Linked DNA regions of Homo sapiens: all the other regions are linked to region 3. Evidence: promoter capture Hi-C in 16 types of primary human blood cells and fetal thymus (Javierre and others, 2016). All regions are on one chromosome and are shown on one strand. Each heading gives the region's core, a stretch centred on a gene start or on the middle of the fragment in contact. The rest is flanking DNA. Distances are from core to core; before and after follow the strand shown.

What was found. The method cuts DNA at HindIII sites, captures the fragments that hold promoters and counts their contacts. A CHiCAGO score of 5 or more calls a contact.
Region 1: a contact is called between the fragment with the promoter of HAUS1 here and the fragment with the promoter of MEX3C in region 3, in 1 of 17 cell types (non-activated CD4 T cells). The highest score is 5.7, in non-activated CD4 T cells.
Region 2: the fragment with the promoter of SEC11C here is called in contact with the fragment with the promoter of MEX3C in region 3 in 2 of 17 cell types (naive CD8 T cells and monocytes); the score reaches 7.7 in naive CD8 T cells.
Region 4: a contact is called between a fragment that was not itself captured here and the fragment with the promoter of MEX3C in region 3, in 4 of 17 cell types (total CD4 T cells, naive CD8 T cells, fetal thymus and 1 more). The highest score is 14.9, in total CD4 T cells.

Annotation. Positions count from the first base shown.
Region 1 is chr18:46,102,584-46,105,885 of GRCh38, reverse strand. HAUS1 (HAUS augmin like complex subunit 1) reads right to left here and starts at 1,501. Exons shown (of 9, transcript NM_138443.4): 1 at 1,445-1,501; 2 at 518-692. The coding sequence starts at 1,474. It also overlaps a transcript of ATP5F1A not described here. RefSeq lists an enhancer at 1,097-1,186 and a silencer at 1,577-1,676. The HindIII fragment of the contact is 1,925 bases long and covers 987-2,911 here.
Region 2 is chr18:59,137,911-59,141,466 of GRCh38, reverse strand. SEC11C (SEC11 homolog C, signal peptidase complex subunit) reads right to left here and starts at 1,583. Exons shown (of 6, transcript NM_033280.4): 1 at 1,432-1,583. The coding sequence starts at 1,518. RefSeq lists silencers at 1,544-1,683, 2,104-2,153 and enhancers at 1,724-1,823, 1,904-1,993. The HindIII fragment of the contact is 2,684 bases long and covers 1-2,495 here.
Region 3 is chr18:51,195,830-51,199,385 of GRCh38, reverse strand. It overlaps MEX3C (mex-3 RNA binding family member C), which reads left to right and starts at 1,705. Exons shown (of 2, transcript NM_016626.5): 1 at 1,705-2,819. The coding sequence starts at 2,066. RefSeq lists enhancers at 1,192-1,281, 3,402-3,451, 3,080-3,556 and silencers at 1,482-2,011, 2,032-2,141, 2,282-2,361, 2,622-2,671, 2,692-2,741. The HindIII fragment of the contact is 5,421 bases long and covers 1-3,183 here.
Region 4 is chr18:56,635,373-56,638,716 of GRCh38, reverse strand. TXNL1 (thioredoxin like 1) reads left to right here and starts at 125. Exons shown (of 8, transcript NM_004786.3): 1 at 125-374. The coding sequence starts at 277. RefSeq lists enhancers at 1-87, 247-306, 88-1,073 and a silencer at 1-96. The HindIII fragment of the contact is 1,142 bases long and covers 771-1,912 here.

The DNA of each region.
Region 1 (3,302 bases), core at 252-2,751, 5.1 Mb after region 3:
CTACTGGCCAGGCAGGGTGGCTCATGCCTCTAATCCTACCACTTTGGGAGGCTGAGGCAGGCGGATCACCTGAAGTCAGGAGTTCGAGACCAGCCTGGCCAATATTGTGAAACCCTGTCTTTACTAAAACACAAAAATTAGCCGGGTGTGGTGGTGCAGGCCTGTAGTCCCAGCTACTTGGGAGGCTGAGGCATGAGAATCACTTGAACCCAGGAGATGGAGGTTGCAGTGAGCTGAGATCACACCACTGCACTCCAGCCTGGGCGACAGAGCAAGATTGTCTAAAATATATACACACACACACACACACACACACACACACACACACACACACATACATATACATATATATAAACATAAAACAATAAAGTTACTACTATAACAGAGTGGAAGAAAATCTGGGAAAAATAAAGGAGCAAAACAAGTAGTCTACAGTAAATTAATCCTGTATACTTTAGTGTTATAAAATTTGGTTACCTCTATTTATTCTCGTTCAAAACTCTGGACTTAATCTCACCTTCTGACTCGTATTCACTTGCTTTCTGCTTCAAGTCCTCTATTACCAGGTAGACATCCCTGTCCCGGACCCTGTTGCGTTCTGAAAGGTGATGTAAAATCTCTGTGGTCCGTGGGTTCACCTCATACTGTGGAATAGGATGATCTCCAAATATTTTTTTTAACCACGCAGCAACCTAACCATTAAAAGAAAGACAAATATTATAAGCCTTGTTTACTGTAATGGCTCGATGAGAATATGACAAAGAAGTGATCAAAAGCAAACTAAATGCTTTCTGTGACTATTTTGGAGTCCTACTTCACAACCTCACTTGTCTTTAGGGAGATACTAGATATCAGGAAATAAAAAGTGAGCAAGTACACAAAGAAACGTACAATACTGAAAATTACCAGAGAACAATCCGTTCTTTTCCAAATCTGCAAAAGCGGTACAGGCTAACAATTTGCCTCGCTTGAAAAACCTTAAAGCTTAATAGACCATAATAATGCGAACGCATTATTAGACCGTGCATGGTCTGAAAAAAGCAATTGTCCCTCGATCACCAGAAGCCCCGCCGCGCCGGGAGGCTCCCAGTGTTGGGATGCAGGGCGCGGAAGCAGTTCAGATGTGGAAGCCGCCGGGCTGAGCAGCGAACCGGAAGGCGGGTTTGGCTTCATAAGTCCCACTCCAGAGTCTGTGGACACGGGCTGCTCAACGCCTCTCCCGGGCCAGATCCAAACAAGGGGAGGCCCGGGCAGGAAGGGAAAGGCCTTCAGGAGAGTCTAAGCACGGGGGGCTTGCAGATAGTGACGGCGGCACTAAAAGACGGATGTGTGGAATAGGGGAGAGAAAAGTAGACGTGGCGCGCACAGGAGACCCGCTGTCGGCGCGGGGGTGTCAAAAACGCGTTTTCCAGGAGGCCAACGATCCCCATTCCCGCCCCATCACCTGCGTTTCTCTCTCCTCCTGCGGCTCCATAGCTGCGGCTCCCGCCACTTTACTAGGAACTCCTAGCGGGAGATGCGCCCCGCTCACTCCCTAGGCCCCGCCCACACGCCGTTGGCACCCGCCCCTCGCCGGGCCCGGGATTTCTGGGAGTTGTGGTTTTACCTGAGACTCCTGGCCGTTGAGCCCCTGTGCAAGGCTGGTCGAAGGCTCTGGCATTGCAAGCCTCGCTTCGTTGCCACTTCCCAGCTCTTCCCGCCTTCCGCGGTATAATCAACACTACGAGAGATAGAGCCGCCTAGAACCAGGTTGTTTTTTCTTTCTTTTATTTTTATTTCTTGTTTGAATCACTTGTCGTTAAAAAAAAGTACTTGAAACGTTTGGTTCTTGCTTAGCAAGATGTTTGTGTTTCTTCCACATTGATTGCATCCACTCAGAATTTATATTCTACCCTGGCAATATGAGCTGAGGCAATCTTAACTTGATCCGTTAGTTCCCCCAACCTAAAAACTAGGGACATTTTTTTTTTTTGAGACAGAGTCTCGCTTTGTCGCCCAGGCTGGAGTGCAGTGGCATGATCTCGGCTCACTGCAACCTCTGCCTCCTGGGTTCAAGCGATTCTTCTGTCTCAGCCTCCCAAGTAGCTGGGACTACGGGCAAGCGCCACCACGCCTGGCTAATTTTTGTGTTTTTAGTAGAGACGGGGTTTCACCATATTGGCCAGGCTGGTCTCGAACTCCTAACCTCATGATCCGCCCACCTCGGCCTCCCAAAGTGCTGGGATTACAGGCGTGAGCCAGCGCGCCCAGCTTTTTTTTTTTTTTTTTTTTTTTTGAGATGGAGTCTCTGTTGTTCAGGCTGGAGGGCAGTGGCACGATCTCGGCTCTCGGCTCTCAGCTCACTGCCACCTCTGCTTCCCGGGTTCAAGCGATTCTCCTGCCTCAGCCTTCCGAGTAGCTGGGATTACAGGTGTGCATCACCACGCCCAGCTAATTTTTTGTATCTTAGTAAAGATGGGATCTCATCAGGTTGGCCAGCTTGGTCTCGAACTCCTGACTTCAGGTGATCCGCCCGCCTTGGCCTCCCAAAGTGCTGGGATTACAGGCACTGCGCCCGACCTTTTCTTTTCTTTTTGAGATGGAGTGTTTCTCTGTCGCTTAGGCTGGAGTGCAGAGTGACATGATCTTGGCTCACTGCGACCTCCAACCCCCGTCCCCAGGCTCAAGCAATTCTCCTGTCTCATCCTCTCTAGTAGCTGGGATTACAGGCTTGTGCTAGCATGCAGGGATAATTTTTTTATTTTTAGTAGAACGGGGGGTTTCACCACGTTGATCAGGCTGGTCTCAAACTCCTGACCTCAAGTGATCTGCCTGCCTCGGCCTCTCAAAGAGCTAGGATTACAGGTGTGAGCCAACACACCCAGCCTAAAATGATTTTCTTTTCAAAGGAAACTTACTAGCAAGCCAAGCTTATTTATTATTTATTTTATTTTATTTTTAGAGACAGGGTCTTGCTCTTTCGTCCAAGCTGGAGTATAGTGGTGATCACAGTTCACTGCAACCTTGAACTCCTGGGCTCAAGCAATCCTCCCGCTTCAGCCTCCTTAGTAGCTGGGACTATAGGCGTGCACCACCACACCCAGCTAACTTTTTGTATTTTTTGTAGAAAGAGGGTCTCACTATGTTGCCCAGGCTGTTTTTGAACTCCTGGCCCCAAGTGATGCTCCCACTTGGGCCTCTCAAAGTGCTGGGATTACAAGCATGAGGCACCACACCCAGCCTGTCTTGCTTATTCTTTTTGCTTCAAACATATCTCTGCTCTGGCTGGATGCGGTGCCTCACACCTATATTCTCAGCACTTT
Region 2 (3,556 bases), core at 334-2,833, 7.9 Mb before region 3:
ATTATAGCCATCAGTAATCAGTACCAATTTTAGAGACACTTTAAAAACCCAGCCATTAAGTCTAGATTTTTAAACAAAGCTCTGCTTCCTGGAGGATATTCTTGTGAACAGCATCAATGCTCAGGACATTAGCAGTTACTTTTTTAAGCTGGTGATAATCTCTACTACAACTCATCTTCCAGAAACAGGAGTCATCAGCTTTGCACACCTAGACACTACCACATCCTAAACACGGTTGATGAAATAGAAATTATCAAACTTTCCCACACTACTGCACTAGTCTGAAATTCTACTTGGGGAAGGGGGAGGAGAGTGAGAGGGGAAAAACACGTATGCCTAAAGGAGTAAGCTGTGACCTCCCATGGGCACCACCCCACATCTCAACATGATGGAGCAAATGAAACTGGATGCCATCAAAATAATGAGGATTAATACCATTTTCAAAGACAATCAAAACTCCCTGGTTGGAAGGTCCCATTTTTCTTAGCACAATTTATTAGTAGCAATAGTGGCATTAGTATCCACCGTGATATTCAGGTCCTACAGGTCCCCCAAATTCTCTACCTAGAAGCCTACATAGTCGTATTTTTCCTGACTGAGAGGGCTTCCTTTCCAATCCCTACTCACTCTTAACCTTATAGTGAAGAGATAAGGCCCCAAAGACAGTGATGATGGCCAATAAGTGGCTAAAAAGAGAGCAAGAGGAACGTTTTCCTCTGAGGTCCTCTCACAAAGGAGAGGGAATTCAACCACCCCAGCTGCCCAAAGACCCTACACTGCCTCCTATATTCAGAGTGCAGCCATCTCAGAAGTTAGAGAAGGCTTCTGGAATCTCGCTGGGAACACTGGTTGAGTCCACAATGATTGCGCACAGCTTGTGAGCTCTCTAGGCACAAGGAGCATTATTTAGTCCCGACCCACGGTCAGGGGAAAAACAACTGCCCAGGCTGGGAAGAAACTGCTTTGGGAGGCATCGCTGGACAGCTCCCGTTGTAGGAAAGTTCTTCCCTCTCGCCTGCCTTTCTGCCTCTTCCACCTGCCGGCAGTCAGGCCTCTGAAGCCCCACAGAGAAATCGGTTCCCTCTTCACCGGGTGGCCCTTCAAATACGCTCAGAGAGCTGTCGTTCACCGAGTCATCTCTCCCACAAGCGTGGCTGTGGCATTCTCAACCACATTTGACATTCCATGGCACGGGGTTTCTATTCTCCCCTTTCCTGCACCCTCCCCTAATTGTGCTCTTGTCAGGGCAAGGAAGTGCACACCCATGCCCACACGTAGGCGTAGAACCCAGGGCCTGAGAGCCCAGCGCGGGAGCTTCGGGTGGCCGCCCGGCCGCATTCACTGGGAGCCGGAGCCCTGACTGGGAAGCCCCGACTCCCCGCTAGCACAGGCGGTCCCGGCCACGGCGCGCTCACCACCCTCCTCCGTCACCTGGCGCTTGTTCATCTTCTTCAGGTCCCCGAAGATATCCAAGCCGGACGCGGGGAGATGAGCCCCCACGGCGCCCGCACGCACCATAGCAGGGTCTCCGGGGACCTAGCGGCCCGCCGGCTCTGGGTGGCACAGACGGCTGCGGAGCACCTGCCGGCCCCCGCCCACCGGCCCAGCGTCCTTGCGGCCACGTGACCGGCGACTCGCTTGGGCGTCTGGGAATCGTAGTCTCGCCAGTCTTGGGCACTGGCCAGCCAGGAATGAACCTGAAGGAAGAAAACTACCACTCCCAGAATGCTGCGGGGTGGGCACCTCGGCCAGTGAAGACCCGGGGCTCCTAGGGAGGGCAGCTACAGGGCTCCGGAGCCTTGTCCGACCCTTCGGAGGGAACATCGAGCAGCGAGTGACCCCGCATACCTCGGGGGGCAACTCGGGGAAGGGACTACTCAAGAGGAGCTGAATTTCCCGACTCTGGTCAGGCGCCAAGAGGACACCTAACTCCCGCTCGCAAATCACCTAGCCGTGTATCTTGGCTATTGGATGACTGCAGCGAGGAAAGGTGGTGCCTCTACGCTGGGGCGGGCTGAGCCGAATTGGGGCGGGGCCTAAAGATGGACTGCGGTGGGCGGGGCTTGGAAGAGGCGGGACTTTTGAGGCCGCTGAATTCTGCATTTTGAGTGGTACCACTTGTATGCAAGGAAGTATCTTTGAATGCCTTGACCATAATTGGGTTGCAATAGATATTAATTAAATGAATACATAACCACCTAATTTCATACACGAGAAAGCAAAGGCCCAGAAAGGTTCATTGACATGGCCAAGGTTAAGTGGAAATGAGTGGAATATAACTCAAAGTTTTAAATTTAGAAGTCCTAGATCATCACAGTTCTGATCCTAGATTACCTTTGGTTCATTCACTCACTCGTGTATGCATTATGCATTCTTTATTGTATTTATTTATCCACAAATCTTTATGGAGCACCTACCATGCACCTGGCCTTGTTCTAGGCACTTGAGAAACATCAGTTAACAAAACAAGCAAAGATTCTTGCCCTCATGAAGCTTATATTCTACCGAAGGCAGACATAATGGATAATTTATACGGTACCTAAAGGATGGAGGTGCTATGACAACAGGAAAAGCAGATAAGTTGAATGGGGAGGTCTGGGGGAAAGGATCAGGTTGCAATTTAAAATATACCAGAAGCTGACTTACCATGAAGCTAATGAAAGGTAAGTTCTGGGACCCTTCAATTGCAAAGGTGTTTTTCCAAGGTGTGGGAGAAACTTAACCATAGAATGTGTAAAACTTTCAAAAGCAAGATATTGCAATTGCTATTGGTTAAGAGTTCTGTTTCTTTGCATTCCAACTTCACCTCCATTACATTTCCCCTCCTGTTGGAGGGACAAGGAGAATTTTGGGGATCCAGCTAAGGAGGAAACGAGTTGGAGATACATTTGGTTTGAGTTTAGTGAATTTATTTATGTGGTTCATGGTCTTTCCTGCCATCCTCGTGTAAAAAATGGCTTCTGGGAATACTGCCATCCACTGGGCCAACTCACCTGGCACCGTGGCAGGAAGTCCCACTGGAAGTGGCATCTGATATGAAAGTGTTCTGCAGCACTTGACCTTGGAAATAAGTGGATGGAGAGGAAAAACAAGGTTTGAAATGTACAGATCCAGAAGCTAGTCTGTGTAAAATTCTTCCAAATATCAGATGTATAAAATTATAAGTGCAAGACACAGTGCTTAGTACATAGGAAGATATGGTGATAGTTAACCCTGCCACTAATAATTGCTGGAACTAAGGTGGCAGCACTAAAGGTTCAGAATCTGGATACATTTTGAAGAAAGAGTCTTCAGGATTTTTTGAAAGAATAAATATAGGGCGTGAAAGAAGAAAAGAGATTGAGGCTGACTCCAGGGTTTTTAACCTATGGAACTAGAAGGGTAGAGTTCCCCTCAACTTCAATGAGGAAAGCTGTGGGTGGAACAGGTTTGTGGGAATAGAGTAAGGGTCCAAAATGTGACCAATAAACCTAGAACCCAGTGTGATATCTTCACATCAGAACCTTTGGCCCAGCCTCCAGGCTCCTGCTTAGGTTGAGCATTGGGTGAGAAGCAA
Region 3 (3,556 bases), core at 456-2,955:
AAGGATCGCTTGAGCCCAGGAGTTTGAGACCAGCCTGGGCAACAGGGTAAGAACCCAGTCTCTACAAAAGATAAACAAAATTAGCCACGTGTGGTGATGCGCGCCGGGCGTGGTGATGCACTGGGGAGGCTGAGGCGGGATGATCACTTGAGCCTAGGAGGTCAAGGCAGCAGTGAGCTGTGATCATGTCACTGCACTCCAGCCTAGGCGACAGAGTGAGACTCTTGTCTCAACAAAAACAGAAATAATAACCTCTAGAAAAGATAGCCACTGCGTGAGATCACCTGAGCAATACTGTGGGAAGAGTGTCTAGGGAGGAGGAAACGGGGATTCATTTTCTTAAAAAGCACCAAAGAGCTGGGCGAGGTGGCTCACGCCTGTAATGCCAGCACTTTGGGAGGGCGAGGCGGGCGTATCACTTGAGGTCAGGAGTTCGAGACCAGCCTGGCCAACATGGTGAAACCCCGTCTCTACTAAAAATACAAAAGTTAGCTGGGCGTGGTGGCACGTGCCTGTAATCCCAGCTACTCGGGAGGCTGAGACAGGAGAAACTCTTTTTTTTTTTTTTTTTTTTTTGAGACGCAGTTTCGCTCTGTCGCCCAGGCTGGAGTGCAGTGGCATGATCTTGGCTCACTGCAACCTCCACCTCCCGGGTTCAAGCGATTCTCCTGCCTCCGCCTCCCGAGTAGTTGGGATTACAGGCGTGCGCCACCATGCCCGGCTAATTTCTGTATTTTTAGTAGAGACGGGGTTTCACCATGTTGATCAGGCTGGTCTCGAACTCCTGACCTGACCTCGTGATCCGCCCGCCTGAGCCTCTCAAAGTGCTGGCATTACAGGCGTGAGCCACTGCAAGGGGAAGCTCTTGAGCCCGGGAGGCGGAGGTTGCAGTGAGCCAAGATCGCACCACTGCACTCCAGCCTGGGCGACAGAGCTGGACTCCGTTTAAAAAAAAAAAACAAAAAACCCCGAAGAGCTAAACTTCAGCACCTCCAGGCTGCTGATGTAACCATCCTGCCGGCAGAGAAGCCGGGCCAGCGGGGCGTGGGAGGAGCATTCCCGAGTCCGAGAGGGAAGGCCCGGGAGCCACGCGGCTCAGGAAACCGCCCCCGCGAGGGGATAGGAGGATACTGCGTGGCCCCTCCTTCCGTGACTCTTCTTAAGGCCCTTCCTCTGAAGGGGGCGATCTCTTCCTCAACCCAAGGAAACAATGCTCTCGAACCTATGCCTGCAGCTCTGCTCCAGGCCGCTCACACAGTGCCTTCCCTAAAAGAACTCAGCCACATGGGCTACAGGGATGAAGGGTTGGGGGGAAACAAATCCAGGTGTGCGCTTCGACCGCACGCGCCTGCGCCAAAACCCCGCTTGGCCCTTAGTTTCAGCCTCTGCTGCAGCGCCTTCGTCCGCCTCCTTTTTCCCGCCCCCGCCGGGGACGTCACAAAGAGTGACGTGTAAAGTGAACAATCACAGTCCCTCTCCGCGCGTGCCGGGAGGAATGAGAGGGAGGTGGGCGGGGAGAGGACGGAAGGAGTAGGCTTCGGGAACTGGCTGGTCCCGGTCACCCAATCAGAGAGCTCTGGGGAGGGGAGGGGCGGGGCCCGAAGGAGGGTGGGGGGTGGGGCTGGGGAAAGGAGTTGGAAGGCTGCGGGAGGAGAAGGCGGGCTCCCAGAGATTAAAAGCACCCAATCAGAGCGCGCCGGCTTCATTCGGAGAGCGGCGTGGGGCGTAGCCGCCGCCGCCGCGCGCGCCGGGGGCTGGTTAAGGCCATGAAACAAAAGAAACACTGAGAGGGGAGCCGCTGCCACCTCCACCAGCCCGCCCCGCCGCCGTCCCCACCCACCCACCTAGTTACCTACCTCTGCCTCCTTCCCCTGCCCCTCCACCCCGCCCTCTCCGGTCTCCGGGCGGCCCTGGCGCTCCTCGGCCCGGGTCCCCAGCCCCGCCGCCTCCCCAGAGGAAAGGTGTTTGCGAGCTGAGCAGGGCCCTGGCCCTGTCCGCCATGGGGCTCGCCGCCTGCCGCGCCTGACCCGGCCGCCGCCGCCGCCATTGACAGCGCGCCGCCGCGATGCCCAGCGGCAGCTCCGCGGCCCTGGCCCTGGCGGCGGCCCCGGCCCCCCTGCCGCAGCCGCCCCCGCCGCCGCCGCCGCCACCGCCGCCTCTGCCGCCGCCCTCGGGCGGCCCGGAGCTCGAGGGGGACGGGCTCCTGCTGAGGGAGCGCTTGGCCGCGCTAGGCCTCGACGACCCCAGCCCGGCGGAGCCCGGCGCCCCGGCGCTTCGGGCCCCGGCAGCGGCGGCGCAGGGCCAGGCCCGGCGGGCGGCGGAGCTGTCTCCAGAGGAGCGGGCTCCGCCCGGCCGGCCCGGGGCCCCGGAGGCGGCCGAGCTGGAGCTGGAAGAGGACGAGGAGGAGGGGGAGGAAGCGGAGCTGGACGGAGACCTGCTGGAGGAGGAGGAGCTGGAGGAAGCAGAGGAGGAGGACCGGTCGTCGCTGCTGCTGCTGTCGCCGCCCGCGGCCACCGCCTCTCAGACCCAGCAGATCCCGGGCGGGTCCCTGGGGTCTGTGCTGCTGCCAGCCGCCAGGTTCGATGCCCGGGAGGCGGCGGCCGCGGCGGCGGCGGCGGGGGTGCTGTACGGAGGGGACGATGCCCAGGGCATGATGGCGGCGATGCTGTCCCACGCCTACGGCCCCGGCGGTTGTGGGGCGGCGGCGGCCGCCCTGAACGGGGAGCAGGCGGCCCTGCTCCGGAGAAAGAGCGTCAACACCACCGAGTGCGTCCCGGTGCCCAGCTCCGAGCACGTCGCCGAGATCGTCGGCCGCCAGGGTGAGTGCAGGGGTGGGGAGGTCCAGCTGGGCATGGCCCCGGGCGTGGGTGGGGAGACGAGAGAAAGGAGCGTGGGACGGAAAAGGCGAACCCGGCGAGGCCCCCAAGTCCACCGCGAAGGGGTCTGGGAGGAGCCGAGGGTCGACCAGATGTGAAGATGGGTCACCTTGCGAAAACCCACGCTTTTCCGCCCGTCTTGCCTGGTAAAAAGTGTGAAGTTTCTCGGGCGACCCAGTCCGGTGGTGTTCACGTTACTTGGGCTGTATTCGTGGAACACCAGGCTGGCGTGGCACCAGAAACCTCAGTGAGGTGGTAAAAGGTCGGGCTCGAGGAGTTGTGGGTTCGCTGTTGGGTACGGAAAGCTTCGAGATTGCAAGTTTGCGCCGCCGAGTGTCTTCTAAAAGCGTTCAGCCTCCCTTACAAGAACTTGTTCAGATGGAGAAAAGAACAGAAATGGAGGCCTGTAGACAGAGCTCACTGGGGAGGGAAGGGGTGTTCAAATGGTCGGTATCACCGCCATCCCCTGCCCCTCCGCTGTTGAGAAACTTAGCTTTGGAAAAGCAGCCCAACTCACTGCCGCCTATCTTAACTGTATTTCTCTCGGTACGTTTCAACTCTCGGAAAGACACACTGACACACTGGCTGTCTTTTAAAACTGTTCAGTGTGCAGGATGAAGAAAAAATGGACACTAAGGTAATTAAGAAACTTCATCGGTTTATACAGTTTTCAGTTAATT
Region 4 (3,344 bases), core at 92-2,591, 5.4 Mb before region 3:
CGTCACGCCGGGGGCCCTGCCGCGCGGTGGCTGCTGGGTGCCGCACGCCTTCCCATCCTCCTCCTCTCCCCTCCCCCATCCCTCCCCGCCCCCTCGGCCGCTCCGCTCCCTGGCGTGACTCGGCACTGAGAGTCCCGGGAGAAGACTCGGCGGTCGCCACCTCTTCTGTCCAGGCCTCGGCCTTCCTGAGCATCTCTCCTTCCTCTCCCAGATCGTCTTCTCCTTCAGTTTCAAAGCCAGTGGCGTCGCGGCCACCCTGCCGGGCTCTCTGTGAGGATGGTGGGGGTGAAGCCCGTCGGGAGCGACCCGGATTTCCAGCCAGAGCTGAGCGGCGCGGGCTCCAGACTCGCCGTGGTCAAGTTCACCATGAGAGGGTGAGGCCAGGCTCGAGCTCTGTGGGTCCCCGTCTGTCCTTCCTTGCTTTCCTTTCACTCTTTGTTGGCCCTGGTTTCCTAGCCGTCTGCTGCCCCGGAGTGTCCGGCAGTCGCCGCAGCCCCAGGAGCTGCCGGAATTAGGCCTCGTTTCTCGGGTGTGAACCCCCATTTATGCACAGGGGTTCCTAGACGGGCTCGGGGGCCTGGCTGGCCGGCTTCTCCAGCTCAGGAGATTTCTCACCTGCTCCTTTTCAATTCTTTGACAAACTGGTTTTGGGGGTGGCCCGCCCCTATTCCTTCCAGCCTGTGGGAGTCTCCGCAGCCACCCTTGCCTGAGCCTGACCCCTTCTTTCTGCAGAGCCAGCTGTCATTTGCATCTCCAGAGCTCCAAAAGCTTAATTTACCGAACACTTTGTTTCTCTTCACCACCTACATCTCTCTAAAGCCTTTGAAGATTCAGATGGGGCGATCTAACTAATATGCGTAGCTCTGAGTCCTGAATTTCTGCTAATGCATTTCGAACTAAGTTAACGTTGGGTTAGGGTGCTTTTTAAATTATTTGAACTTTTTTCTTCCTCGTTCGGCCACTAACTTGTAGCTTAGGCTCCCCTATGTATGCGATTGCAACTGGTCACACACGACAGTACATATATAATATATTTCAGGTGGACAGTTGGCCGGATGTCTTAGTTTGACCCGGCTCTGTTTTTTCACTTAAGAGGACAGGGATCTTGAAAAATGTTAACTGTCTTTGGTAAATATCAACAAAATTATAGGTCGTAGAAAAGGTGGACCTTTTATAGTGGATGTGTAGTAAAGTTCCTTTGTAAGAATGACATGTTGGAACTCGGCGTTGAGAACCAAGATTTCAGCGTGTGTGTGTGTTTCACAGATCTCTCCTTGTGTATGTCGATAGTATTTAGTTAGAAGTATGAGAGGTTTCCGCTTTATTTTCCTTGACCCCTTGGCGTTATTTATACATCTAACTTGGAGCAGTCTACTGCTGGTATCACTGTTTATGTAACACACTTTCTTGTCCAAATAACTGTATAAACACAAAATTCCATTTTGAATTTCAGAGCAAAAAACAAAGTTTCTACTAGATGGTTCACTAAATGTTGAGTATATAAATGGTGGCATTAGGATTATATCGTTTTAGGGAATGGATGCAGATAGATATGAAAACAAGTTAAGACTTATTTTTGGACCAGTCTCTCTTACACTGAATTGAAAAAGGATAGTACCTTGCATTTCATATGGTGGGCTAGAGTACCCATATGATATACGGAATTTTGCATTTACTAAATTTAAAAGGATAAGTGATGTCATATATATAAAACACCTAAAAGGAATGTTAGAATTCTATAAATGTGTCTTCTCATTTTTAGCAATTTTGTGATGTCTGTATTCTTAATAATAGGGGAATACCTGTAGTACATTAAGTATCTAGGCCACAGTAGAAAAGGGAAGATAGGATTTCAATAAGGAACCTCACCTCACTTTTAGTTCACTTATTCTAATTCTGGCCCGTCGAAGCTTTTATATTTTTGTCCCTCAATGATATATTGTTTTTCTCCCTTACCATAGCAGTGGGAGAGATAATAAAATAATAAATAAATATTGATTGAAGTGAGAAAACTGGGGAAACATTGCTGCGAAGGAAGGTTTTTTCTATCAGTGTGGTGTCACTTAAGCATAAGCATAACTGCAGACATTGATTGGTAAGGAACTGTTACATTTAAAAAGGTATTTTAGTGGAATTAAAATTTTTTTTCTTTGTAAAAACCGAGGGAAAATTAATGTTTGGATTTAGAGTAAGTTCAAAAGCATATTTATATTACGTTTACAAATCTGGTAAGATTATTGTATTTACCTTTAATATTCCTCGAACTTATTGGCCATTAATACATCCTGTCTAAACTCATTGTCAATAGAACCCCAGAATTATGTATATGACGGGTCAGTATTAGACTCAGAAACAACTGTATTCAGTAAAATCTTGTAAGAATCCTCTTAGATCAAAGTTAATGCTGTCCCAGTTTAGACTGAGGGCATAGTTTCTCCAGCACCTATTTCATTTCCTTTCCAACCCTATTTTAAACCTTTTTTCTTTTTTTTTAACCTCTATGCTTTATGCACTCTCAGTCTAAATTTTACTAAAATGATACATAGATTGTTCTCCTGTGTAAGAATCTTTAGTGGCTTATGATAAAATATATATAACATAAAATTGACCATTTAGCCATTTGTAAGAGTATAATTCATTGGCATTAAGGACAGTCAGCCCTCTGTATCCATGGATTGAACCAAATGTGGATAGAAAATATTTGGAGAAAAAAAATTGCATTTGTGCTGATCATGTACACACTTTTTTCTTGTCATTATTTTCTAAACAATACAGTATAACAACTATTTACATAGCATTTACCTTAGGCATTATAAGTAATCTAGAGATGATTTAAAGTATATGGGAGAATGGTCGTAGGTTATGTGCAGATACCATGTCATTTTCTATTAGGCCCTTGAGCATCTGTGATTTAGTGTCTTGCTGGAGGTCCTGAAACTAATCCCCCAGATACCCAGACATGACTATACAGTCACAATGTTGTGCCACCATCACCACTGTTTCCTATAACTTTAGACAGAAATTCTATATCCATTAAAGGATAACTCCCCATCCTTACTTCTCCAAAGGGACAAAACTGTACCCATTAAGCAGTAATTTGCCCCTCCCCATCTACCTCCTTGGTAACTTCTATTCTGCTTTCTGTCTCTATGAATTTGTCAATTTGTGGCACCTAATATAAGTGAAATCGTAACAATATTTGTCCTTTTGTTTTTGACTTCACTTAGCATAGTATTTTCAAGGTTCATCCATGTCTTAGTATGTCTCAGAATTTCATTCTTCTTTATAACTGCATAACATAATCCATTTATTTATATGGCAAATTTTGTATACCTGTTCATTTT